Linked DNA regions of Homo sapiens: regions 2, 3, 4, 5 and 6 are each linked to region 1. Evidence: promoter capture Hi-C in 16 types of primary human blood cells and fetal thymus (Javierre and others, 2016). All regions are on one chromosome and are shown on one strand. The core of a region is centred on a gene start or on the middle of the fragment in contact, and the rest is flanking DNA. Distances in the headings are between cores, read along the strand shown.

Region 1 (4,560 bases), core at 835-3,334:
ACTTCTCTGCTTAACTGTAAGCTCCTTCAGGGCACAGACCATGCCTTTTCTTCTGTGTATCCTTAATTTCTTTTTTTTTTATTTCTTTCTTTCTTTCTTTTTTTTTTTTTTGAGACAGAGTCTCACTGTCGCCCAGGCTGGAGTGCAATGGTGCAATCTCGGCTCATGGTAGCCTTCTTCTCCTGGGTTCCAGCGGTTCTTCTGCTTAAGCCTCCAGGGTAGCTGGGATTACAGGCATGCGCCACTACACTTGGCTAATGTTTGTATTTTTAGTAGAGACGGGGTTTCACCATGTTGGCCAGGCTGGTCTCGAACTCCTGACCTCAGGTGATTCACCTGCCTCAGCCTCCCGAAGTGCTGGGATTACAGGCATGAGCCACCACACCCAGCCCCTTAATTTCTTATATAGTGCCTAGCACACAGAAGATGCTCTATAAATAGTTACTGAATGGACAAATGACTAAACTTTGAAACTTCTTTGACCTTACTATGCTCAAATATCACTTCTGATGTTCTTCTCCGACTCTCTCACTTATCTTATATATGTCTGCACACGTTTTTTCCTCATTAGACTGTAAGGTCCCTGAGGGAAAAGACCATGCTTTATTCACCTGTCTCATTCATACCTGACCCAGTGTCTAGAAGAGTGTATAGCACAGAGCAGGCACACAAGCAGTTTGCTGGATGAATGAGTGAATGATACTAAAGAGGAGAAAATACAGACTTTAAGAAGCTCTCCGTATAGTGAGAAAGACTGAGGACCTAAGAGCAATGAAAATAGAAGTTAACAAGTATAAATAAAGAAGGTACAGGTTAATTTAAGTAATCAGATGATGATGCAGAATTCAAATAAAATAGGAGTCAATCAGCAAAGGTTCCCGAAAGGGTGAATTCTGAGAGATATTTGAAAAGAGGAAAGGGACATAACTTGAGAGAGCAGGAGTTTAGGAACATGTCAGAGAGTTAGGTTGAACCAAGGCATGATAAACATGTTTGAAGCTTACATTCTGAGCAGGATCTGTTCTACCCAGACCACAGGTTTCTGCCTTTTTTTCTGGCTCATCAAGCAGGCATGTTTACCCACTCTTTTTATCTTCATGTTTCCCAGGTCAGCCCAATGTGAGGACTTTAAGTAGTAGAAGGAAGTTTCTGTGAAAATATGCAAACAAAACTGCCTTGTGGGATCGAACATTTTTGGTAACCCTAGTTCTCTAGGGAAATAAACTTCCCTGTTCCAGATAAAATGGAACTGCTCCCCGTGTTGTTAAGCCAGAGAGAAAGCCAAATGACTTCCCTTAAAAGGTACTTCAGCGCATTTTACACAAATCATAGTTTTCTGTGTGTGTTATGGGGATCCAAGGAAATCAAAGATGTTAATGAGTGAGATTTGAGAAACAAAACTTGATAGTAGAATTTTGTCTTAGCCACAACTGCCCTTCTCCTCACAGAGTATATGCAAATACCGATGGTGACGGACAGTCACTTTCTAGAGCTCAGATCACTGCTGCCTCCAGCACTTGTGGGATGGAAAAAATGAAGAAATTACAGTTGCCCTAAAAATGTCCCCCACTTCAGGAACCTGAATATTTTACACAGCAGGAGATACATCGGAAGTCCTACAGAATCTCTTGACTTTGGGAGATGCAACTGCTTTTCTATTAGGATAACCTAATTTTCTGTGTCCATTTTCTCAGAATGTTGTGCCCAACGCGTTCTGTTTCCTAAATACCCAGCCTTCCTTCTGGTAGAGGCAAGAAAATTATGCTAGCATTCGCTCACTGCATGTTTTGAGCGTTTGAGTTCAGAGTACAGCTATTCTCTCTCCTCGTAATGTAAACACAGGTTCCCACGGCGGCAATGGGAGACTCCCCTAAGGGGCTCTTGACGTACAGGGAGACTTCCAGATATGGTACACAGATGTCACATTGCTAGAACGTCTCTAGACGGCAACGAAACATTAAAGCCTAACCTGAGGTAATCCCTCACCGGCAGTGAAGCTCCTCTGCTAGGCACTGTCGTCCCGTACACTGCCCAAGCTCTGGGGGTGTCACACTAAACTGTGGTGATGTCACACTAGCTGGGATGACATTTTACAGTTGGATCCCGTACCACCGCCAGGCACCTTTAAATCACCGCAGAGTCTGCAGTGCGGAGGGGGCGGGAAGTCCAGGCCCCGCACTCGATCCACGCTGGCTCCCTACGGAGGCCCACCTACTCGAGGCCCACCGACTCCTACTGCAATCAGTACTATGCGATCGTCCTAGAGAGTCCATTCAGCTGCACTTCCGCCTCAGTAGGTGTCATGGCGCGGGGCGGGTGAATAGTTCCGGCGAGGCGGGGCCGGCCGGGTTGAGGGACGGCCGCTCGGCATTCCGTTCGTCGGGTCTGGCGACAACGGCGGCTGCGGAGCAAGGGGCCCGGCGGTAGCCCCGGACGGCAGCAGGAGGCCGAGGCGGGAGCGCGCGGGGCTGAGGCGGCGGCGGCGGCGGCGGGAAGGGGCTGGGTGGTGGAGCGGGAGGGAGGCTGAGGAGGCTCCCCCTGCGGGACGGGCGCGGGGACGGCTCCGGGGGGCGGGGGCCGGGGCCCGGGCCGGCTCGCGCGGGGGGTATGATGACCCGGCTGCGGGGCCCCAGATCTCGTCTCCTCCGCCGCCTCCTCACGGCAGCCCCAGCTCGCGGCTGAGAACCAGACACACCGGCGGTGAGTGGGGACGGGCAGGAGGGGTCCTCGGCGGGGAGCGACTTCCCCTCAGCTCCCTGAGGCGGGGCCGGGCCGGCCGCCGGCTCTCCTGGAGCGCCCAGCCTGCCGGGGGCGCCTTCCTCAAAGGGCCCCTGCCTGGGACCGGGCGCCGCGTCTTGCGGCCCGGCCGCTCACTGCCGCTGAGGGGATTGCCTTCCCAGGAAGGTGGGGAGGCTCCGGGCTGGTTTTCGGGGCAACTCCCCCTGCCTCCTGCCACTTCTCGCCTGGGCGTGTTGTCCTTAAGTGACAGGGGACCGCCTTGCGTCTCCTCACTCGGCCGGTTTTTTCCCCGGCTGTCGTGGCAGGTTCCCAGTGTGTGGCTTGTGCGTGTGTACTTCACAGCTCCGCTTATCACCATGGTTTTGGGTTATTTGTGCTGTTTGGGACCAGGAAGCCGTGCCTGGAGAGGACGACAGTGGGGTGGGTGTGGAAGCTTTTCTGTCGTCTCCGCTGATGTTCTGTAGTCGTTAGGCTTGTAATTCGTAATGACGGTGGAGACTACGTGAGACCAGCCCACCTAATGTATATCTGTACAAGGGAGATCTAGAGGTCTGGCCCAAAGGGAAACTTTTGCTGCCACCACTTTCAAAGCTTTCGTTAAAAAAACAAAAGGGAGGGGGAAGGTGGAGAAACAACCAAAATTCTGGTAAGGCCCACACTGTTCACAGGTCTGTGGGGAAGAGTCCCCTTTTTGTGCTTAGCAACCAAGACGTGGAGTTCCGTCTCCAGGAGCGTTGGTCTAACCTCCAGTTTGTTGTGGTGACGAGCTGTGAGCAATGGCCTGTGTTTATGCTGGGCGAGCTTTCTTTCCTACTTGGGGAGGGGGGTTCAGGATGGGAGGATGCGGGTAGGGAAGAGGGGGGGAAAACCCCCAAGCTCCAGTAAGTCTTTTCTTTACTTAATCACTGATTCTGTTGTAGGTAGACTCATTTAGAGGCAGTCCTAGATGCTCTTTCTTGTCTATTAGTGACACTTTGGGAATTCTCAGTAATTGCATCAACATAATACTTTCAGCTATAGACTCTCTGTCCCAATCTGTCCTTTATCTTGTTTCTTAGTAACTGGTGAAAACAGCAGTGTGGCTTCCCGCTCTTGATGAAATAGGGTTAAATTAAGTGGCTGATGCCCTCAGCAAACCTACAATTTTCCTTTTGTTTGTGTAAAGCTATTTTTGATCTCTGGTCTGTGGGTTTTTTTTTTTTTTTTGTAAGATTATAGAGAATGCAAACTATTACTAGCTTTTTTCATATGGAAGCCTAAAGCTTTCTATAAAACATTTTAAAATCTAACAAATCATTTGACCTAATTTTCATTATTCAGCTGGTGATTTTGGATCTTTACATGTAATTATCTCAGGGTTCTGTGTTATAATACTGTTATGATGAAGGGTGGCATTGACTTTAAGATACTGTTCCTGGCTTGAAAGATATTTTAGTAAAGTACTTGCGGTTGGAACTGGAGGCAGCCAAGCCAGTAAAGTATCTTAGAATAAAATGGTGAATGAGATCTTATAAATATACTGGCTCTGGTTGGCAAGTAGAACTTTTGCTGGTGATACCTTCATGAATAGTTTATCTCTCGACACTGTAGTTTTGTGGTTTTTTGAGCAAGTTCGTTGGTAACTTGAGACTTCAAACCAAACCAGAACTTCCTTCTAAAAGAAAAAAAAAGAAGAGATAATCTCAAAGTTCACAATTCTTTGGAAAATAAACTTCTTTCATTCTGTGCTTTTGTTTTTATAAGCACAGCTCCATCAATGATTTGTTGGTACAAATCAGTGAGTCATACCGGCCTTGTAAAGTTCTTACACTTGGAACTTGT
Region 2 (4,560 bases), core at 554-3,053, 850 kb after region 1:
CAAACAAACAAACAACCCCACAAAAATTAACAGGGCGTGGTGGTGTGCACCTGTAGTCCCAGCTGCTCCGGAGGCAGAGGTGAGACGATGGCTTGAGCCCAGGAGGCAGAGGTTGCAGTGAGCCGAGATCGTGCCATTACACCACGGCCTGGTCGACAAGAGCCAGACCCTATCTCACAAAGCAAAAAAACAAGCACACAATCTAAAACAATCTCAAGATTTCAATTTGGTTCATTTCGAATTTATTCAAAGTTTCTTACTGCAGAGTGAGACTGGTGAGCTTTCAGGACTGGTTCAGCATCCACCGCTTTTTTAGCAACCATTAACTGTAACATCTGTTTCCGATATTTGCTCATGATAAGTTCCAAAGCATCCTGGTGTTCCTCCAAGGAAATCCATAGCTCTGTCAAAAAATAAAAGAACTTGGCAGTGATGTCTGAGAGACAGTTCCCAAATCCAAAGTCTTAACAGTTGGAATTTTGTAACACTATATAGATAATATGAATCTAAAGTTGTAAATCAATGTTTAAGTCCGCAAAACTGAACAGTTAAAGTCTATGTGAAAGGTAACTTTCTAGGCAGAGAAGCAAAGTCTTGCAGAAACAACAATGGATGTATCATCAGAAGACATGTGTTTGAGTTCAGTTCTGTAACTTGCTTGGTTAATACTCATAAGTAAATCATTTAGCTTCTTCTGAGCCTATTTCTTAACTGCATTGTGGTAGATAAAAATGAAGATATGAGAATACAGTAGAATGATATATGTGAAACCCCTCTGGTAAACAACTATTAATACCACAATCATTAATAATGTACTAATCAAGCCTAAGAATATATACCCTTAGAATAAAATTCTGCTGCTTCACCTTGCACAAACAAGAACATAAACAAAACCTTAAATCTTACCTTCAGTGTTTATATTAATACTTAAACATTAAATTTTAAGTCCATGAGGCTATGAACTCTTTTGTTACACATCTGAGGATGCTTAAAAATAAACCATGCAATAATACCAACTCTACACAGCACCTCTTTGGTAAGCTGCTGCAATATTAGTCAGATGACCTTGAAAAGGGTAATCTAACAAACTTTATTGTTACTGGGCCAGATCAGGAGGACTCTCCTACTAAAAGTACTGACCTGGAAATATATGTACACTTTTGTAAATGTTTAGGGCAATTTTGCAATAACTTTAAACTATTACCAGATATGAAAAGGCCTGACTAACCTCTGTTTTCCTGTTGCAAGTCTCTAATCTGTGTGTTCTCTTGGGACAGCAGAATGTGAGGTTTGTATTTGGACATGTCCTTCATATCGGATGCATCCTCTTGATACTGGACAAATAGAGACAGACTAAGCATGCCTTAAAGAGAACAGCGGCAGATGCAACTGAAGAGGCAGAAGTTAGGGCTCCAGGGCAGGATTCTCAGCCCCGACCCAGGAAAATGGTCTCACCGCCGCCCTCTGAGACCGGGAATAAATTCCAGGCCGAGTTCCCACTTTACCTCGCTCTCCACCCTTCAGTGCCCAGAATCCGAGAGCACTGGACTCCTACCCTCTGCCTGACCTGGTCCGGAAGCGCTGTCCCCGCCTCCCGCATAGCTGCTACCCGCCGGTGCAGCGCCGCCGACTGATCCACCAGCGACTCGGCGGCCGCATCGTGCTCCCGTAGCCTCTCCAGCAGCGTCTTGGCGTCTGTCAGGATCTTCTCGATGGTGCAGCTCATAGCAGCAGCACCACCCCAGCCCCTGCCGGGCTCAGCTACGCGACTCGCTCAGATCTTCTGGGAGTCTGTCTCAGCATTACAGGCGTCATTTCCGGGCACGTTTACAAGGTGTCTTGGTAGGCGCAATGGGCGCCTGCGCAGTGGCAGCCTATTTTGCGGGTTGACCCGCTTTAACCTGCGGCTTCCTTGCAGTCCTTCCTTGCGCGGAGCCCCAGACCTACACTTGCCACGCCGTTGGTTTCCAGTTACCACAGCCTGGTGGTCAGGCTATGATTAGCTGGGCAGTGGGAAGGTCTCCTTTCCCTACTGGTTTTCATTGATGTGGGTTGTTCTTCAGTCACAGTTAGTTTCTTTTTATTTTCATTATTTTTTTCTTTTTTGAGACGGAATCTTGCTCTTGTCCAGGCTGGAGTGCAGTGGCGCGATCTTGGCTCATTGCAACCTCTGCCTCCAGGGTTCAAGCGATTCTCCTGCCTCAGCCTCTCGAGTAGCTGGGATTACAGGCATGCGCCACCACGCCGGCTGATTTTTCTATTTTTAGTAGAAACGGGGTTTCACATGTTGGCCAGGCCGGTTTCGAACTCCTGACCTCAAGTGATCCGCCCGCCTCGGCCTCCCAAAGTGCTGGGATTACAGGTGTGAGCCCCCGCGCCTGGCCTACTTTCATTTAATTTTTTTTAAATTGTGGCAAAATACACATAAAATTTAATATCTCAGCCATTTATAAGTGTACAGTTCAGTTGTACATTCATATTGTTATACAGCCACCATCAGCATCCATCTCTAGAACTCTTTCATCTTGCAGTACTGAAGTTCTGTACTCATTAAACAATAATTCCTCATTCTTCCTTATCCCCAGCTCCTGGCAGCCACCATTCTACTTTGTGTCTCTACAAATCTGACTATTCTGGGTACCTGACATGAGTGAAATCATACAGCATTTGTATTTATATAACTGCCTTATTTCACTTAGTGTAATGTCCACGAGTTTCATCCATATAGTAGCATATGTTAGAATTTCCTTCCTTTTTAAGGCTGAATAATATATATATACCACGTTTTGTTTATCCATTCATCCGTGGATGGACAGTTGGGTTGCTTCCACCTTTTGCTATTGTCAATAATGCTGCTATTGCAACTGGCTCACGTCTGGCTGCTTGCTGCCTAGAGGCCAAAAACATGAGAAGTGACCTGTGGTGAAAGCTTTACTAATCAAATGCTCGCAGATGGGGAATGGCTAGGCTCATGCCTTCAAAACAGCATTCCACTTTTTTTTTTTTTTTGGTCAAGGTATCCCAGAGACAGTATCAGTGTCCAAACTTTAATTTTGTCCCATATCAATGCCAGGGTGGTGTGCTACCTGCCCTGAGTCCATCATGTCCCTCCTGCGGCCAACTGACTTAGAGTCAAAAGAGTTACAGCCAATTAAACGTTCTAGGTCAGATGGGAAGGAGGTGGGCAGGCACTCATTAACCTTAAAACCCCTCTTAAGCAATGTTAAGAGGCAAAAACCAAAAGGCAAGGGTTACAAAATTGACTTATCTATAAATTCTATGCATTGAGCTGCTGTAATCTTGGCTTGTTGCAATTAGCTATACAAAATGCAAGCATTTTGTTTAGCTGTTTTGGCATCTGTGTCATCCTTGATTTGTAGGGTCTGAACTAATTTTAGCTCTCAATACTGGCCCTTACAACATTACGTTATAGTCTCTAGGCATGGCGGGATTGAAGAGTTTCAACTTTTGTAGGTAAAACAAAACAGAAAGAATTAACAACATTTCAAACACAAAGGTCATAAACCCTGCCTAGTTTTGAGAATAACAGGAAAAGAAGTTCATAGGTAGCTAAACACTTAAATTATTTAGTATCAAGGCACAGAATAAATTATATTAATTCAGATAGAGGCAGAATTGTTAAATGAATCTTAATATTTTTGAACACAAGACTGTCCCTGTGTCTCATGAAAGCAGTTTACTTTGTCGCCTTTGCCTGAGTCTAACGATGAGGCTTTGGTTAATTGCAGTTTAGTGTCAGATACTGGCAGGAGTTGATGCCTTCTTTGGATGAGATATGTGTAAGTCCCTATAACTTAAAAGCACAAGGATTAGTTAATATCACCTGATAAGGACCTTTTCAAGGAGCTGGAGGTGTGATACCGGAGTCTATGACCTGACTGGAAGCTGTAAAAATATTTTACAACCTTGCAGTGATTAATTTTTATAGCTTCGATAAACCCCAGCAATAAGTCAGAGACTTAATTTACGATTTTGATTTTGAGGACATTGGTCAAAGATTTTAAAAGCCTCAAAACATTTGATCAAAACAAGATAATATTCATTGTAAAAATAATAGTTACTCATTTAACCAAACTGATAATTAAAGACTTTAAAGGCAATTGAGAAGGTTACCAGGACATAAAAACCTGAACCCTTTTAAATCTCAGTTTTTCTAGGCAATTAAAAACCCATTAAAGAGAGCATGGGAATTATTTGATAAAACATTAAAATCTTGTTTCTTAAGCAAGTTACTACACAGGCAAAAAACCCCTTCTGCTGTGTGACTGCTTCTCCTTATGGGAAGACCATGTAGGTAACCTGAAAGTCATACTTGAAAAAAGTGCTTGAATTTAATCAGACACAAGAAGAGTGTATTCATGCTTATGAGTATAGCAAGGGAATACATCTCTCTGAGCAATTGCGTGAGAAGTTTCCTGATTACAACGAAAATCACATATCAAGAAAAGCCGGGAGTACAGAATCAAGTTATATTGGAGGAAAACACTGCTTTTATAGACTTCTAAGATAAAACATTTCAGCATCAGGCCCCAACAGTTA
Region 3 (4,560 bases), core at 1,238-3,737, 830 kb after region 1:
ACAACTCTCAAAAGCTTGTTGAATAAATAGCACTGGACAACAGTATGATAAGTTGTTAGAAATTGGAATATATTTCTGGGAAACTACAGAATGTAAATTTTTTTTTTTTTCAGATGGAGTTCACTCGTGTTGCCTAGGCTGGAGTGCAATGGCATGATCTCAGCTCACTGCAACCTCCGCCTCCCGGGTTCAAGCAATTCTCCTGCCTCAGCCTCCTGAGTAGGTGGGATTACAGGCGTGCACCACCACACCCGGCTAATTTTTGTATTTTTGGTAGAGACAGGGTTTCACCATGTTGGCCAGGCTGGTCTCGAACTCCAGATGTCGTGATCCACCCGCCTCAGCCTCCCAAAGTGCTGGGATTACAGGCATGAGCCACCGCACCCGACCTAATTTTGTATTTTTAGTAGAGACAGAGTTTCTCCATGTTGGTCAGGCTGGTCTCCAACTCCTTACCTCAGGTGATCCGCCCACCTCGGCCTACCAAAGTGCTGGGATTGCAGGCATGAGCCACCACGCCTGGCCCAGAATGTAAATATTTCAAACCAGCTGTTTTGTTTAATTCACCCAGTTCTTAAATCGAGATCTCCCCTTCCTGCAATACAGCTGGTCTGTGTATTCTAATCTAATGTTATAGAGAAACTGTACCAGGCTCTTGCGCTAGATATGAGGTCATGTGAAACTAATTAGGTAATTAGGTAATTCTACTTTTAGTATACATTCTCAAATATCACAGCAATAGGAAATGTAAAAAAAAAAAAGTCTTACTAAATTATATCAATACAATTACTATTAATAAGGAAGGATAAAGCCTTGATTTCTACCATTACACATAGCTTCTGAAAACCTTCTTTAATTATATAATCATTTCATCATCATCATTCTGAATATATCCCAATTGTCTTTAAATTCCTTTAAATTCCTCCTTGTTCCAAAATTAATATCAATTTACATTTAACACAAAATGCAGTCTGTATAAACCGAGAAATATACATTTTAGCTTCTAATGCATTAAAGAAAGTAACAGGTGGAACAATTTGATATAAATCACAAGTTAAAATGATTTACTGTTTCTACAAGTAAAACCCACAAACAGAAGTAGGTTTCATTATTAGATCACTACATAATGATTTTTTTCAGATGAATTTTGAAGTCAAATCAAAAACTGAAAAAATGTGGTTATCTTTTTATGTTTTTTTTTAAATTAAATCAGAAACTTGTTAAATCACTTTGGAAAACCATCTCCTATGCAACAGGGTGACATGGATTTTGGGAAGATAGTCTGTTAAGGAACCATCAGAAAAAAATTTGAGAAATTATTTTTAGTTATTCATCATATTTAGTTTTCTACTCTGAAAAACTTAGACAATGAAATTGATAATGATTGTGTGCTTTTTTTCCCTCTACAATCATCAATAAGTACATTATCTCTGAAGTCTACTTTAGAATCAAAAGTAAGCATTTCTTACAGTTTGTAAGGTTTTCTTGAGCAGCGGTGGGTGAGATTTTTGTCATTTCTCTGTCGAATGAGAAAAATTAGGTCAATATAGAGCTTTTTTAAAAAAATTAAATAAGGCTAAATTTATTCCAGATTTTAAGAGTTGTTTTTATTCTGACATGTCCTCCCTGTTTAGGGAAACTAAAGAGGATCTTCTTTTATAAAATTATGATAGGCTGGGCACGGTGGCTCACAACTGTAATCCCAGACTTTAGAAGCCAAGGTGGGAGGATCGCTTGAGCTCAGGAGTTCCGGACCAGACTGGGCAATGTAGCGAAACCCCGTCTTTACAAAAAAATTGAAAATTAGCCAGGCATGGTGATGCATGTGTGGTCCCAGCTACTCAGCAGGCTGAGATGGGAAGACTGCTTAAGCCTGGGAGGTCATGGCTGCAGTGAGCCATAATCGTGCTATTGCACTTCAGCCTGGGCAACAGAATGAGACAAGGTCTTAAAAAATATTTCATTAAATAAGATAAAATTATGATAATAGTGCATGGTAAAGAGGTCCACATCCAAGGTTTCAGAACAGAAATAATACTTCTAGAGCAAAAACATTCATAAAGAAGAATTATTTCCATAAGAATTAATGTAAATAATTAAGATTTGGTCCTATAGGCCTACAACCCAAAACTTTTTATTCTTTAACCAGCCTCTAAACAGTTAAAGGGCATTATATAAATAAGAATAACATAATACCACTAATGTAATAAAATATTAGAATTTAAATAAGAATGCAAAAGCTTTATATAATGCTTCCCTTTAAAATGTTAAAATTGCACTTAATAGGATAATTATGTGGACATGCTAAAATGCTGCACCAAAAGTAACCATCTAACATTGTAGCTCTGGGAGTCAGTTAATAGAGGGAAGGGTAGAGCAACAGAATATTTATAATTTAACTTAAACTGAATCCTGATGAAATCCAATTGTATTTAACATAAATCCAAACTCTTTTACTGTGCTCTTCAAGGCCCTGAATGATATAGTCCCCACCAAATTCTCTAACCCCTGGTTAACTGGTTCTTCCTATATTGTAAGTTTGTTCCTACTTCAAGGCCCATGAATTTACTGTTGTCTCTGCCTGGAATGTTCTAGCCCAAATCTTTGGGCACTTTCTCATCATTCAGATTTCAGGTCAAATGTTAACCACTTTACAAAGGCCTTTTCTAAAGTAAAAGTACCCACTAAACTATCAGTTTCCATTTGTTTATTGCTCATCCCTCTGAACTACAGCATAAGCTTCAATTCTCTAGTTCATCATTGTATCCCCAAAACCTGGCACAGTGACTTACGTATACAGTAAATACTTAAACAATATTCATTGAATGAGTAAATTTCACTTATTTTATTGAATCCAAGGCAGTAGTGATTGTATGGTAGGTCATCATTTATGGATTACTAATAAGAAAATATGTAGCCATTGCTATAAAGACACATGCACACATATGTTTATTGCAGCACTATTCACAATAGCAAAGACTTGGAACCAGTCCAGATGTCCATCAATGATAGACTGGATTAAGAAAATGTGGCACATATACACCATGGAATACTATGCAGCCATAAAAAAAGATGAGTTAATGTCCTTTGTAGGGACATGGATGAAGCTGGAAACCATCATTCTCAGCAAACTATCGCAAGGACAAAAAACCAAACACCGCATGTTCTCACTCATAGGTGGGAATTGAACAATGAGAACAGTTGGACACAGAAAGGGGAACATGACACACCAGGGCCTGTCGTGGGATGGGGGAGGGGGGGAAGGATAGCATTAGGAGATATACCTAGTGTAAATGACGAATTAATGGGTGCAGGACACCAACATGGGACATGTATACATATGTGACAAACCTGCGCGTTGTGCACATGTACCCTAGAACTTAAAGTATAATTTAAAAATAAATAAATAAATAAAATAACCCTAAAGCTCTAGAAGAAAATATGTAGCCATTTTCATTATTGATATGGTTTGGTTGTGTCCTCTCCTGAATCTCATCTTGAATTGTAGTTCGAATAATCCCCACATGTCATGGGAGGGATCCAATGGGAGGTAATTGAATCATGTGGGCAGTTACCCTCATGCTCCTTTTCTTGTGATAGTGAGTTCCCATAAGATCTGATGGTTTTATAAGGGGCTTTCCCCCCTTTGCTCAGCACTCATTCTCCTTCCTGCCACCAAGTGAAGAAGGATATGTTTGCTTCCCCTTCCACCATGATCATAAGTTCCCTGAGGCCTTCCCAGCCAAGCTGAACTGTGAGTCAGTTTAACTTCTTTCCTTTATAAATTACCCAGTCTTGGGTGTGTCCTTATAGCAGTATGAGAATGAATTAACACAACAAATTGGTACCAGGAGTTAGTGGGTCACTGCTATAAGGATACCCGAAAATGTGAAAGCGACTTTGGAACTGGTAACAGGTAGAGTCTGGAACAGTTTTGAGGGCTCAGAAGAAGAAAATGTGGGAAGGTTTGGAAATTCCTAGAGAATTGGGGACTCAGAAGACAGGAAGATGTGGGAAAGTTTGGAACTAAAATGCCGATAATAATATGGACAATGAAGTCCAGGCTGAAGTGGTCTCAGATGGAGATGAGGAACTTGTTGGGAACTGGAATAAAGGTGATTCTTGCTATGCTTTAGCAAAGAGATTGGCAGCATATTGCCCCTATCCTAGAGATCTGTGGAACTTTGAACTTAAGAGAGAGAATTTAGGGTATCTAATGGAAGAGGTTTCTAAGTGGCAAAGCATTGAAGAGGTGGCTTGGGTGCTCTTAAAAGCATTCAGTTTTATGCATTCACAAATATATGGTTTGGAATTGGAACTTGTATTTAAAAGGGAAGCAGAGCATAAAAGTTTAGAAAATTTGCAGCCTGATGATGCAGTAGAAAAGAAAAACCCATTTTCTGGGGAGAAATTCAAGCTGGCTGTAGAAACTTGCGTAAGTAATGAGGAGACAAATGCTAATCATCCAGACAATGGGGAAAATGTCTCCAGGGCATGTCAGAGACCTTCATGGCAGCCCCTTCCATCACAGGCCTGGAGGCCAAGGAAGGAAAAATAGTT
Region 4 (4,560 bases), core at 310-2,809, 790 kb after region 1:
CATTAAGTTTCCTGACCTATTGTTTAAATAGGACCACATATTTTATGTTGGTCTATCAGTTGGCCTCCCCCAAGCCTTGTATGCCCTCATACCATTGAGTTATCTGGTCCCCTTGGCTGACGAAGAACCATTAGGCGAGGAGCACTGGCATCATCCAGAGTGATATTCTTCAAGCGATTGACCAACCGATCAGGTCGAGGAGCTGCAACAGCCTTGGGGCCCTCACTGTAATTAAGTCAAAAGATGAGAAGAAACCACACTTGGTGGGCAGACAGCAAGCACTTGCAAAGGAGTGTGTTTTCCACCTAACTGCCCAAATGACTCACTTTTTATGATGGGACTCTTGCCTCATATACCTAGCTAGAAAGACAGGACAGACAAGTTTGTTTATGTATTATTATCCCCAACTCAAGGTCCCAACTTAATAGGAATGGAAGGAATCATTTGCAGACCCTAGACTTGAATGCAATCAAGAGTGACCAGTTCCACAGATGCATAAAAAAACAAGGTAGCAGATGTGGTAGCTAACACCTGTAATCCCAGCGCTTTGAGAGGACAGGGCAGGAGGAACACTTGAGCCCAGAAGTTCGAGATCAGCCTGGGCAAAACAGTGGGACCATGTCTCTACAAAAAATAAAATTGGCTGCATGTGGTGGCGCATGCTTGTAGTCCCAGCTACTGGGGAAGCTGACGTGGGAGAATTGCTTAGGCCCAGGGGGTTGAGTCTGCAGTGAGTCGTGATAGCGCCTGGGTAACCGAATCAGACTGTGAGACTGTCTCTGGGGAAGCAAAGCGGCATTATGAATCAGCATGGCTAAACTATTAGAATTTTAAGTAGCATATAACCTAGAAATGACTTAATGGAAGAAGAAGAATTTGGCAAAAATTTTAAAAAACATGTACTAAACAATCTTTTTGTATTCAACTAGAAGTAGGAAGTATCAAGAAATAATAAGTGGCAGAAGACAAGGCACAGAAAAGTGATGTGACAAAACAGAGACTATAAAGTTGAGACACTCCAGGGTAGTTACTAATCAAACCACAACAACAAAACTCACCAGACTCGCCAAACATTACAGGCGCTGCACTTGCCAGTGCGCTGATTAAGAATCACTGAGAACTCCACCTCATCTCCTGCCTGTAGCTCAATGCCATCCTGAACTTCTTTCACATGGAAAAAGAGCTTCTTGCTATCTCCTACTTCATAGTTAATGAAGCCAAACTGAAAAAAAAAAGTAGGTAAAAAAGAGAGGGCATGCCACACCTCACTCTGAATGAAGCACAATGCCTGCCCCTATCTAAAAGGATGTATAAAACATGGTATTAATGTTGATACTCCAGTCCAGCTGCCTGTGGCAAAACCTGTCAGGGAAGAAATGTATCTCTGAAAGTGCCATTCACTATATCACAAACTTGAACCAAACAAATAAAACTTGCCTTGTTCCTTCGTATATTATGAACTAAGCTTTTTGAATTAAGCAAACTCATCAGGAAGCTGTTACTTCAACATATATATTGTTTGGATCCCCTCTAGAATTAAGCTGGGTTATAGTAGCAGCCATACAAAATGTTATTATTCTCTGTACTGATGAAAAACATTCTGAGGACTCAGATTTCCCTGAGATCTCAGGAGTAAGACTAAGTTTGTTTGCCCTAAGCTTATTTTTTAAGTACTTTTGAACGTGGTTTCTGTGTTTGTGTGATATGCAAAAGAAGCTCTAAGCAAAAGTGTACAAAACCATATAGTCCTTCTATTCTGGAAATCTCACCCCTAACTTATTTTCCCCATTGCATAATATTAGTTACTAATACCAATCTTACTTTCTCATTGCTAATATAGTCACTTTTTGTGTAGTTTTCTGTTTTTATTAAGCTACCTCAAATGACTGAAAAAAGGTGAAGTAGAAATAAAAAAACGAATGAATGTTGATGATTTCCCCTTGGCTGAAAATATTTGAAGGTTTTGGTTACCAACTCATAGAAGGATCAAATTCAGATACAGAGATGCTGGCACTTACCTGATCTTTCACACATTCCACTGTGGCCCTGCGCAGGGGTGTGATGTTGTAAGCCATAGTTTGTGCATTTTGGCCCAGGACACACAATTGGAACTTGACGCTCTCCCCTTTCTGCAGGCAATCCCCTTTGTTGGCCATCCCAACGATGCCAAATGGATAGACCTCACCTTTCATATCGCCTGTAAAACAGGTACAAAGTCTAAAAGCTAGTATTTCACAACAGTCCTCTGCTGATGACCCTAGGAAGTTTATATAACTGCTAAAAATGTGTTATGTTACTTAAAATATATTTACATTTTCAGTACTCAGAAGTTTCACCTTAAAGCTTAAATGAAATCCTAAATGTTAAATACTACCATGGAACCAAATGAGAATGTCACAGCTCCCATCAGTACTTTATTAGCTGATGAACAATTTTAAACTGCATTTATAAATTAAAACAAAAAATACTGTCATTTACAATCCCATTGCCTAAATTTTAAGCACTATGGGTTGCCAATATTCACAGGACTATCTTCTTCCCAAGTTCACAATATGAGCCAACCAAAAATACTTTTGTCCCATACTCAATGAGCCAGTAAACAACTAGGCGGGCACAGGCAAAAACAATTTAGATAAATTTGACACCCCACCTCCTTTTTTTTTGTTCGAATTCTGGCTCCCTCACATAGGTTCCTTTTTCCAGATCAGAGACCAAAAACCATTTTCCTAAAGGGCCGGAGAGTATTATTTTAGGTTTGCAAGTCATCCTGTCTAACCAACTCTGCTGTTGTAGTGAGAAAGCAACGAAAAACAATATGTAAACAAATGGTTGTGGCTGTGATCACAAGAAAAGGCCACCATATATGCTGAGCCCTGCCCTACAGTATGAAGTTGCCTGGAGCCCGGTGCAGGCTACAGATAAAAACTATGCCAAAGAATTCAGCTGCCTAACAATTTTCAGCATCCAGGCAAATGTACTCAGTCAACAATAGTGGAAAACATGAGAAAAACAGGTGGGAAGCAGAAGCTTCTAACCATCCTCTTGATGATTACAGGGTAAGTGAAGAATTTTTGTCATTGTTATTGTTGAGACAGGGTCTCGCTCTGCTACCCAGGCTGGAGTGCAGTGGCGATCAACGGCTCACTGCAGCCTTGATTTCCTGGGCTCGGGTGATCCTCCCACCTCAGCTCCTGAGTCGCTGGGACTACAGGCACACACCATGACTGGCTAATTTTTGCATTTTTTGTAGAGACAGGGTTTTGCCATGTTGCCCAGGCTGGTCTCAAACTCCTGGGCTCAAGTGATCTGCCCACCTTGGCCTCCCGAAGTGTTGGGTTTACAGGTGTGAGCCACCACACCTGACTTTTTTTTTTTTTTTTGAGACGGAGTCATGCTCTGTTAACCAGGCTGGAGTTCAGTGGCATGATTCAGCTCACTGCAACTTCCGCCTCCCAGGTTCAAGTGATTCTCCTGCCTCAGCCTCTGAAGTAGCTGGGATTATAGGCACCCACCATGATACCTGGCTAATTTTTGTATTTTTAGGAGAGACAGGGTTTCGCCATGTTGGCCAGGCTGGTCTCGAACTCCTGACCTTCAGGTGATCTGCCTGCCTTGGCTTCCCAAAGTGCTGGGATTACAGGTGTGAGCCCCTACTCTCGACCCCAGCTGACTTTTAATTTTAAATACAGGAACCAAAAAACTTTGAGGAGATAATCCAAAGAGATCAAGTCATGGGAAGAGTGATTAGAGGAAGCTGGTCTGACCTCATGCAATATCAATAATTACCATTTATGATGCACATACTGATTCATACTTTATAGAACCATCTAAGGCTGAAGGTATTACCATTTTAAAGATGAAGAAACTGAGCTAGCAAAGATTTAAGTTATTTGTCCAAGATTATATGCTAGAACGGTGTCCAGATCTAGGTCTGCCCAACTTCAAAGTCTTAGTATAAGTTACAGTTGTGTTCCTGAATAAAAGAGCTAGTTCTTACCAAGTGGGAAAATGTAATCTGTCTAGTCCCGGGCTTAGAGATGCCTAAACAAAACCCTTGCTTTGGACTATATCCCACCAGGCTTAGAGATGCCTAAATAAAACCCTTGCTTTGGACTATATCCCACAGCCAGTGCTGAAGAATGAGTGGACTGGGAAGTGGGGATGGAAAAGGAAGTAAAAGCAGCACGTTAGGAGATGGAAGGGCAATTTGATATCATATTATGAGTTAAAGTTAGTAGTCCATACTCCCATGGCCTTTTTAGGGGTGTGATGTCATGGCATTTGTTTAAAAATTCATATTTAGAGGTGGGAGAACAGTGGTTTTATGTAGAACAGAAATTCTAAGAATCCCATGTGGTAAAGGAATAGGTTATCAAGGTTCATTTCCTTCTCCCAAATGACCTGCTATTCAGCACTTTATGTTCGCTGACTCTTAGATGATGCAAGGACTTTATTCTCTTTGTAAACCAAGCCATCATCTTTTCTTTTTAAAATTTTTTTATTATTAGTTTTTTTAATAGTAGAGACGGGGTTTCACCATGCTGGCCAGGCTGGTCACGA
Region 5 (4,560 bases), core at 1,286-3,785, 640 kb after region 1:
TTTATATGTAACAATCCGCCCCTCCGTCCCCCCTACACGCCTGCAGAATCTTCGTGTGCTTGGGTGTTCTCATATCTCACAAGTAACATGCTCCGGAGTTGGTCTATTTTCATCCATTGTGCAGTGACCTTTTGACTCTGGAAATTCTATCAATCAATCAGTTCTGGAAAATTCTGAATTATTTTGATGACTTCTTCCCTCCTGTTTTCTCAGGTTATTCGGCTACTGACTTTCCAGACCAGTCCTCCTATTTTCTCTTCTCTGTTTTCCATGTTTGTCTTTGTTGCCTCCACTTTCTTTGAGTGTGTCAACTTTAATTCCTAACTTTCCCATTGAATTTTAATTCCTGCTACCATATTTTTTAATTTCGACAAGCTGTTTTGTTCTGTTTCTTAATAACATCTTATATATTATTATGGCTGCAGTATCTCCTCTGAGGATTTTTTTTTTGAGACACGGTCCGGCTCTGTCACTCAGGCTGGAGTGCAGTGTCACAATCATAGTTCATTAAAGGCTTGAATTCCTGGACTCAAGCAATCCTCCTCCCTCAGCCCCCCAAGTAGCTGAGACTATAGGCGCACAACACCATGTCTGGCTAATTCTTTTATTTTTTGTAAAGATGGGGGTCTCACTACGTTGCCCAGGCTAGTCTCAAATTTCTGGGCTCAAGTTATCCTCCCACCTTGGCCTCCCAAAGTGCTGGGATTTAGACATGAGCCATCACACCCAACCTGAGGATATATTTCTTAAAAACAATTTTTTTCTTCTTGCATCATCTATTTCTCCATAGTCTTTCCCAGATTTGTTTTACTCCTTATCTTTCACAATGTAGAACTGCCTTATCTGGTGATCCTCAACTGTCTATTCATGTTTAAAAGTCGGGAGCTAAAGCACGGTTTAGAAGCTGTGTTGGTTGCGGGGTGGTTTGTTGAGCCTCTCTGCTCTGTGTCCTGGCTTGGTCATTTGTTGGGAAACTCTCAATTTCAACAACTGTAGTAGGTCTTTTCTCTTAGGCTGGTCAGATACTCCACAACTCTTCCAATTTCCTTCTGAGAGAAGTTCGAGGGTGGGCAATGAAGAGATGGATGACAACACTCCATATGCGTTCATTCCTACAATCCCTATCTTCAACACAGAAATGTGGCTCTCGCTAGGCGTGGTGGCTTACACCTGTAATCTCAGCACTTTGGGAGGCTGACTTGGGCAGATCACCTGAGGTAGGGAGTTTGAGACCAGCCTGACCAACATGGAGCAATCCCGTCTCTACTAAAAATACAAAATCAGCCGGGCGAAGTGGCACATGCCTGTAATCCCAGCTACTTAGGAGGCTGAGGCAGGAGAATTGTTTGAACCCAGGAGGTGGAGGTTGCGGTGAGCCAAGATCAGACCATTGAACTCCAGCCTGGGCAACAAGTGCAAAACAAAACAAAACAAACAAACAAAAAGAAATGGGGCTCTCAATTGTATTAAGGTACTTTCGAAAGTACTAACCATTTATCAATATCACAGATCAAAAAGTTCTAGGTTTATTTTGTATTATAATGAACATCCTTTTATTTTTTCAAAATTGAAAAATAATTTTTAGATTTTTCAAATTTATATTTATCAGTTATTGAGATGAACACCTCTCAGTAATTTTTTTTTTTTGAGACAGAGTCTAACTCTGTCGCCAGGCTGGAGTGCAGTGGTGCAATCTCGGCTCACTGCAACCTCTGCCTCCTGGGTGTAAGCGATTCTCCTGCCTCAGCCTCCCGAGTAGCTGGGACTACAGGCGCATGCCACCATGCCCAGCTAATTTTTGTATTTTCAGTAGAGATGACGTTTCACCATGTTGGCCAGGATGGTCTCGATCTCTCGACCTCGTGATCTGCCCACCTCAGCTTCCCAAAGTGCTGGGATTACAGGTGTGAGCCACTGACCTTGCAATAATTTTCAGTCAGTCTTTATACATTAAGACTACCTTGCTTCGTTTGAGACAGGGTCTTGCTCTGTCACCCAGGCTGGCGTGCAGTGTCACAATCATAGCTTATGGTGGCCTTGAACTCCTGGACACAAGTGATCCTCCTGCCTCAGCCTCTCAAAGCACTGGGATTACAGACGTGAGCCACCACACCTAGCAACACTACCTTTTGATATGTTGCAAATATTTTTTCTGAATTGGGCAGGAATCTTTTACACAATTTAATTCCTTACAAGTAGAGAAGTAAGAACATTAACTCTGGAGCTGGACTATTGGGTTCAAAACCTGACTGACAACTTTCTATAAAAAAGCTGACACTTTCAGCTATAAAACTCTGGCAAGTTATGTTATTTAACTGGTGTCTGTTACATGTCCACATATGAGAAAAACAGTAACCGCCTCCTGAGGTTTTTGTGAGGACCAAATAATTTTTATTCACATACATCTAGTTCATCTACCTAAAGTGTTCAGAACAATGTTCAGCACATATTAAGCTTGATATAACTGTTACCTATGATGATGACGATGATGATGATAATGATAACTGTACAGTCACTGTCTTTCTGAAGTTGTTTGGTGATCAAGAATGTGTTTAGAACTATCTCTTTATTAGACAAAGTCATAAACCAAAAATTTCCAACTTCCTGTACATGTTGAAAGCTTTAAATAAGGATCCTTGGATACAAAATATGGTCCACATGGCTGAAAATTAATTCTATGACACAATATTATTCTAAAGTCATCCTTATTTTGAAAGCCTAAAGATTTTCTTTTATGGCTATAAAAATACCACCAAGCTAGACATTTTAATTCTGTTGAGATATACAAATAGAATTACCACAGCAGCCTACACCTTCTATGATTTCTAAACACTTAAACATCAATGGTTTTGGGAAGATGCTGTTGTCCTTCAAAGTTCATTAAAAGTTCAGATGCCTTTTGTGAAAGCCCAACTTTTCTTCTACCTGCTAAATTGTCTTTTCAGAAGTCTTGCCGGATGTTTTCTTTGTTTGCCTCTCCATGTTGCTGCTTAATTTGATAGATTTCATTTTCTAGCTGAACAATAGTCCGTTCAATCTCATAATTCTTACTGACCAGGGATACCCAACTAGAATGGGGGGGAAGAAAAGAAAAAAATTACTCAATGTAAAACTTCTCTTAGAAGATTTTATTTTAAATGTATACACATGTTCACCCAGAGCTATAACACTAACCTTCACTTTTTTTTTTTTTTTGAGACGGAGTCTCGCTCTTGTTGCCCAGGCTGGAGAACAATGGCGCAACCTCAGCTCACTGCAACCTCCGCCTCCCGGGTTCAAGGGATTCTCCTGACTCAGCCTCCCGAGTAGCTGGATTACAGGCACACGCCACCACAGCTGGCTACTTTTTTGTATTTTTAGTAGAGATGGGGTTTCACCACGTTGGCCAGGCTGGTCTCAAACTCCTGACCCCAGGTGATCCACCCACCTCGGTCTCCTAATGTGCTGGGATTACAGGCATGAGCTACCATGCCTGGCCTAACCTTCACTTTCAACTTTCCATTAAAAAAAAATCAAGGCACAATTGTGGAAAAGTAGGTAAAGGGTACATGGAATCTCTCTGTATTCTTTTTTTTTTTTTTTTTTTTTTTTCCAGAGACAGGGTCTTGCTCTGTTGCCTAGGCTGAAATGCAGTGGTGTGATCACAGCTCACTAGCCTGGAACTCCTGAGCTCAAGCAATCCTCCAACCTCAGCCTCCTGAAGAGCTTAGACTACAGGTGCATGCCATCATGCCTGGCTCATTTAAAAGCATTTTTTTGTAGAGACAGGGTCTCGTTATGTTGCCCAGGCTGGCTTGAACTCCTGGCTTCAAGCAATCCTCCTACCTTGGCCTACCAAGGCACTAGGATTACAATGTGAGTCACCACACCTGGCTCTCTGTATTATTTCTTACAATTGCATGTGAATCTATAATTATCTAAAAATAAAAGTTTAATAAAAAAGCAAATTAGAAACAGATGAGAGAACTTGCAAACCAGAAGAAAGAGGAAAGAGTGATGAAGATAGTATTTAATCAACAAAAAGGAAAGAGGCAATAGTTTATTAAATTGAGGAAAAAGCGTGAAAGGGTACCAACGAGACTGGTAAGACGTACATGGAGACGGTGGAACAAGAATGACTTGAGTAATGAAGGGAGAAAGGGAATGGCCAAGCAAAAAGGAAGAGAGAAATGACACAAATATTCAAGATTATATTGTATAAAGGTATACATGTGTGTATGTAAAAGAACATTTTTAAAAATGCATAAACCTGAGGTACAAAAAAATTACCAAGTATGAAATCTCCCTCCCTACAAGATTTTATAAAATAATTTTTTTCCTTTTTTTTTTTTTAAAGACTAGGTCTTGCTCTGTTGCCCAGGCTGGAGTGCAGTGGTGTGATTATGACTCACTGCAGCTTCAACCTTCCAGGTTAAGCAATCCTCCTGCCTCAGCCTCCAGAGTAGCTGGGACTACAGACATGTGCCACCGTGCCTATTTTTTTTTTTTTTCCGTTTAAAAGGAGAATAAAGGTAGAGTTCTATTCAAGGCCAAAAATACTAGACTAAAAACAGGGTATTC
Region 6 (4,560 bases), core at 864-3,363, 540 kb before region 1:
CTGAAGTTTTCTACTTAAAGGAGTGGGTTTTTTGAGATGGAGCCTCACTGCAATGCCCAGGCTGGAGTGCAATGGTGCAATCTTGGCTCACTGCAACCTCTGCTTCCCTGGTTCAAGCGATTCTCCCACCTCAGCCTCCTGAGTAGCTGGGATTACAGGTGCCTGCCACCATGCCGGGCTAATTTTTGTATTTTTAATAGAGACAGGGTTTCACCATGTTGGCCAGGCTGGTCTTGAACTCCTGACCTCAAGTGATCCGCCTGCCTTGGCCTCCAAAAGTGCTGGGATTACAGGCCTAAGCCTCCGTGCACGGTCAGGAGTGGGTTTACTTAACTGTCATTAGAAACATTAGGCACAATATTATGAAACAAAACAAACTTTCCACCTTGCTTAAAAAAAAATTATTAGAAGCAAATCAATGCAGTGTACACGTGGCAGACACTGTGAGTTGCTTACCCAAAAGCTAATCTCCCCTCCCTGTATTTACTAAGAGACCCCTCCCCGCCAAGTTTTGTCCCTATGTTGTGCAGCCAAGAGGCAGGGCCCCCTTCAGAGTACCAGAGGTGATACTGGATAAGTAATAAGATATTTCATTACCCTTGGCAAAGATTCATTTAGTAAAGGAAATTTGGGAAACTGTGGCCAAGAAGCTAGAGGAGAAGTCTTGCTGGAGGCCTTTCGGGGAAAGGCTTCCTTGATCTACAAAAAGGAAATGAGGAAAGGAAATATCCTTTTCCCTCCTTTCAGTCTTTAGCCATTATTGTGTGTGGATGTGATACTTGGAGCCTCTGCAGCCATCTTGGGACTGAACTTGTAAAGTTTCCATAGTGAAACATATTGATATGTTTTGGATATTTGTCCCCTCCAAATCTCATGTTGAAATGTGATCCCCAGTGTCAGAGGTGGGGCCTGGTGGGAGGTGTTTTGATCATGGGGACAGGACGGATCCCTCATGAATGGCTTAGTGCCGTCTTCTTGGCGATGAGTGAGTTCACACCTGACCTGGTTGTTTAAAAGTGTGTGGCACCTCCACCCTCTCTTGTTCCCACTTTCACCATGTGATGTGCCTGCCACTGCTGCACCTTTCACCATGACTGAATCCTACCTGAGGCCTCACCAGGAAGCCAAGCAGATACCAGCGCCATGCTTGTACAGCCTGCAGAACTGTGAGTCAACTAAACCTCTTTTCTTTATAAATTACCCAGCCTCAGGTATTTCTTTATAATGACACAAAAATGGCCTAACACACATAGCTATCTCTAGCTCTATAGATTAGATAGATTAGATAGGGATAGCCCAAAGAAACCTTGGAGATCACCAAATTCAATTGCCTCATTTATTTTTATTATTTTTGTTCCATGTTGTTTGGTTTATTAATATTCCCCAATGGAAATCACAACTATTAAACCAACCATTATTTTTGGAAAGTCGTGATAAACATGAATACAATACGATTATTTAATTAGGTGTCATTTTAGAGATAGAAGCTTAAAATATGACCCCTTTATGTAATAATTGCCAAAATAATATCCTACCAGAATTAATTCAATAGCATGGGTAGCTTATTTCTAGAATATTTTAAAAACTGAACCAAAGCTTACTAAGATGGGTGAATTTAATACAATGTTTTTAGCTTTGTCAAAGATAGTACAATTTAGCACAAACTAAAATAAAAATTTACTGTTTGCTCTATGCTGCATCCTATGTTATCAAATAGCTTGACTCAAATTACTTGACTCAAATAGCTTCATACAGTTCTCACAACAACTCAGGTAAACACTGTCATCAAACCCATTTTGTGGATGAGGAAATTGAGGATAGGCAAGGTTAAATAGCTTGCTCAAGATCACAGAGCTAGCAGTAGAAAAGCTGGGATTTGCAGTAAGTAGAAAAGCTGGGATTTGCAGTCTGATTTGCTCAAGCTCTGAACCACTGCAGTTTTCTGCCCAAGAATGAATACAACTTATTCATGGTTGAGGCATGTGGCAAACACTGTTGGATGCCTACTTAGCAACTATTTCCCCTTTTCTGCTCTCAGTCAGAACACTCATTTTGTTTAGGGGTGACTTGTGATCAATTTAATGAACTGTGGCCAATCCTATCTCTTTTTGCCAGTGACTGGTCTGATGTGGCATATGACCATTTTCTGGACAATAAGGAAGATTCTAAAGTCTGGGAAATATTTTTCTCCTTCATAAAAATGGGGGACAGCACTTCCTTTTCTTCCGTTCCTGCTCTGTGCAGTGACCTCTGTGGATGTGATGTCTGGAGCTATGGCAGCCACATTGCAATTAAGAGGTGACAAACCTGGAGACAAAAGCTCACATGCATGTGATGGCAGAGAGCAAACACAAAAAAGAGCTTGGGTCCTTGATGACATGATTGTACTGCTCAACTAACCCTGAAACTATCTGCACTTGAAATTTATATTGAAGATATAGTAAATGACCTCATGCTTTAAGCTACTGCCAAATATTCTGTTCCTTGAGGCCAAAGGCATTCTAACAGATGCAATCTAGACACAGAAAGATGTTTTCCCAGAGTTCCTGCAAAAACAGATGATGTGTAGGTTATGGAGATTTTATCCAGGAATCCATTAGTATAGGTAGTAGTTTAGAAAAAAAATACTCCAAGCTTTGTCTCAGATATGGTTAAATCTGAGCCATCCACATGGTGTCTGTGCTGAATATTTTCCCCTCAGATGCACTGTTTCCTTTTCTGAAACTGACTGATATGAACTATATCAAAAGCCTCCCTTGCCCTCTGGCGTCTGGTTGGACTTGGCCATTGACAAGCACCAGCAGGAGACTGGAGGAGGGTGGTGAGTTAGATATAAATCCCCCAGGTCCTTTGCTGGGTGTTTACTTAGGCTGACTGCATCCGTTGACTGAAGGTCACAGACTCCTGTCAGGTGGCCCTGTGTGTCTGGATTTTTCGGTAACTGTTCTTTCCCGATTGGACAGATCTAGGAGCTGTAGCCTCAGGGTTCCAGCTTCTCTTGTGGTTTCCCACACCCTGCCCACATCTTTGCAAAATGCCATTTGTTTCCTGCCAGGACCCTGACTGATACAATGGTGTCAACGAAATCACTGCAGCTATTGAAGCTTGGTCCAGTCTATCTGAGGTGTGGAGTTTTATAAGGGCTTTCACCTACTATTAAAGGGAGACAGGAGACTACACAAATAAATGTCATGCTGCAAAAGTGAAACAAAGATCATAGCTCAGAGAAAACACTTTCCACTTGAGGGCAAGAAATCAGAGAAAGCTACCTGGAAGAGCCGGCATTTGGGATGAGGACGGATAGGAGTTTTAAAAGAGATGAGATGAAGGGCATTCCAAAGACAGGGAAGAGTGTAAGTCAAGCCGGGGAAGAGAGAAAGCTCAAGTGAAATTTCTGAAAAATTAGAGCTGGAAGGGATCTACGATATCTTTTATTTAATGTTCGTTCTCCCTTCACCTCCTTTAACTGAGATTTGGCCAAGGTCAAACAGCAAGTAAGTAGCATGTCAGGACTCCAACCAGATCTGCTGGCTACCAGGTTAGTTCTTAATAATCCACCTTCTACCTCCACCCCACTCCCTCACCTCAGGCAGTCTGCTTACTTCTCAGTCTCTCCCACTAGACTGTAACCTCCTCAATAGCGGGGCTTCTGTTTTCTTCACCCTTGAATCCCAGTACCTAGCACAATATCTAACACAAAATCGTCATCGTCATCAGCAGCAGCAGCAGCAGCTACCAAACTTTAAGAGGCAACCACCCACTGTCAGGCACTATGCAGTTATTTTGTACATCTTCTGTAATCTTCACTTTTCACTGAGGACGCTGCGGCTCAGAGAGGTTGTCTAATTTGTCTTAGGTCATACAGCAGTGCCGGACTCTATTTTATAATATCTTTCATCAACCGGACTCCGAAGCCCTGCCTCAATGGGCGTTCAGTAACATCTGTTGAATGAACGAATGAACAAGCAATATCCACTCAATGCAAACTATCGGCTGTAACAGGCCACCCTAAAGGCCCCGGAACCTCGGCCGGCTCAGGACTCCGCACGTTGTCTTCCAATCTAAGCACACCGGCCCCTCTCTGCGCCCCGCACAGGCTCAGAGGCTCCGCCCGCGTCTCCGCCTAACTCGCCGGCCACGCCCCCACTTCGGGGAGCTCGGTCCCTCTCGGATTCGAGTTTTCCTCGGCTCCAGCCGCCGCGCAGAGGGCCTCTCCCGGCCCTGCGACCTACAGCCCCTTCCACTCCCCTGCCCCTCCTCTGCGCCCTCCCTCACTCTCCAAACTTCTTTTTTCCACCCTCTCTAAACTTCAGTCATTCTAGTGCCCGCCTCCTCCACTCGCACCGACCAACCAGTGGTCCCCATTCTCGTTGGCGGTCCGCCTCCTGCCCGCCGGGGGCCAATCCCTGGCGCGAGAGTCCAGGGCCGGGGCTCGTTCCCAAGCGCCCAGCCTGTGACGGCAGCGCGCCGGGCGCCGCGCGGCGGGAGGGGGCGGGGCTCTGGATGAGGGATGGGCGAGGGCCGGGGGAAGGGAAAAGGGAGGAGGAGGAGGTTGCGGCT

What was found. Contacts are between HindIII fragments. The CHiCAGO score rates a contact against its expected background, and 5 or more counts as called.
Region 2: a contact is called between the fragment with the promoter of SIKE1 here and the fragment with the promoter of HIPK1 in region 1, in 8 of 17 cell types (naive CD4 T cells, total B cells, naive CD8 T cells and 5 more). The highest score is 8.8, in naive CD4 T cells.
Region 3: a fragment that was not itself captured here is called in contact with the fragment with the promoter of HIPK1 in region 1 in 3 of 17 cell types (total CD8 T cells, neutrophils and total B cells); the score reaches 5.4 in total CD8 T cells.
Region 4: a fragment that was not itself captured here is called in contact with the fragment with the promoter of HIPK1 in region 1 in 1 of 17 cell types (total CD8 T cells); the score reaches 5.1 in total CD8 T cells.
Region 5: a contact is called between a fragment that was not itself captured here and the fragment with the promoter of HIPK1 in region 1, in 1 of 17 cell types (naive CD8 T cells). The highest score is 5.5, in naive CD8 T cells.
Region 6: a contact is called between a fragment that was not itself captured here and the fragment with the promoter of HIPK1 in region 1, in 3 of 17 cell types (fetal thymus, naive CD4 T cells and non-activated CD4 T cells). The highest score is 8.3, in fetal thymus.

The regions. Positions count from the first base shown.
Region 1 is chr1:113,927,240-113,931,799 of GRCh38, forward strand. It overlaps HIPK1 (homeodomain interacting protein kinase 1), which reads left to right and starts at 2,085. Exons shown (of 16, transcript NM_198268.3): 1 at 2,085-2,293. HIPK1-AS1 (HIPK1 antisense RNA 1) reads right to left here and starts at 2,286. Exons shown (of 3, transcript NR_110726.1): 1 at 2,123-2,286; 2 at 1,005-1,149. RefSeq lists an enhancer at 1,996-2,315 and silencers at 2,436-2,485, 2,506-2,815. The HindIII fragment of the contact is 2,173 bases long and covers 998-3,170 here.
Region 2 is chr1:114,778,882-114,783,441 of GRCh38, forward strand. SIKE1 (suppressor of IKBKE 1) reads right to left here and starts at 1,804. Exons shown (of 5, transcript NM_025073.3): 1 at 1,568-1,804; 2 at 1,229-1,334; 3 at 261-403. The coding sequence starts at 1,726. RefSeq lists enhancers at 990-1,556, 1,557-2,122, 1,587-1,826, 2,067-2,186. The HindIII fragment of the contact is 3,666 bases long and covers 1-2,927 here.
Region 3 is chr1:114,759,357-114,763,916 of GRCh38, forward strand. No RefSeq gene overlaps it. Among named protein-coding and RNA genes, the nearest start is that of CSDE1, 3.7 kb to the left of the region's middle. The HindIII fragment of the contact is 499 bases long and covers 2,239-2,737 here.
Region 4 is chr1:114,718,521-114,723,080 of GRCh38, forward strand. It overlaps CSDE1 (cold shock domain containing E1), which reads right to left. Exons shown (of 20, transcript NM_001007553.3): 17 at 2,019-2,197; 18 at 1,059-1,222; 19 at 93-225. Among named protein-coding and RNA genes, the nearest start is that of NRAS, 4.0 kb to the left of the region's middle. The HindIII fragment of the contact is 193 bases long and covers 1,464-1,656 here.
Region 5 is chr1:114,565,189-114,569,748 of GRCh38, forward strand. BCAS2 (BCAS2 pre-mRNA processing factor) reads right to left here. Exons shown (of 7, transcript NM_005872.3): 7 at 2,369-3,068. The coding sequence ends at 2,942. Among named protein-coding and RNA genes, the nearest start is that of BCAS2, 14 kb to the right of the region's middle. The HindIII fragment of the contact is 166 bases long and covers 2,453-2,618 here.
Region 6 is chr1:113,385,941-113,390,500 of GRCh38, forward strand. No RefSeq gene overlaps it. Among named protein-coding and RNA genes, the nearest start is that of MAGI3, 2.3 kb to the right of the region's middle. RefSeq lists silencers at 2,907-3,151, 4,141-4,190, 4,221-4,560. The HindIII fragment of the contact is 1,038 bases long and covers 1,595-2,632 here.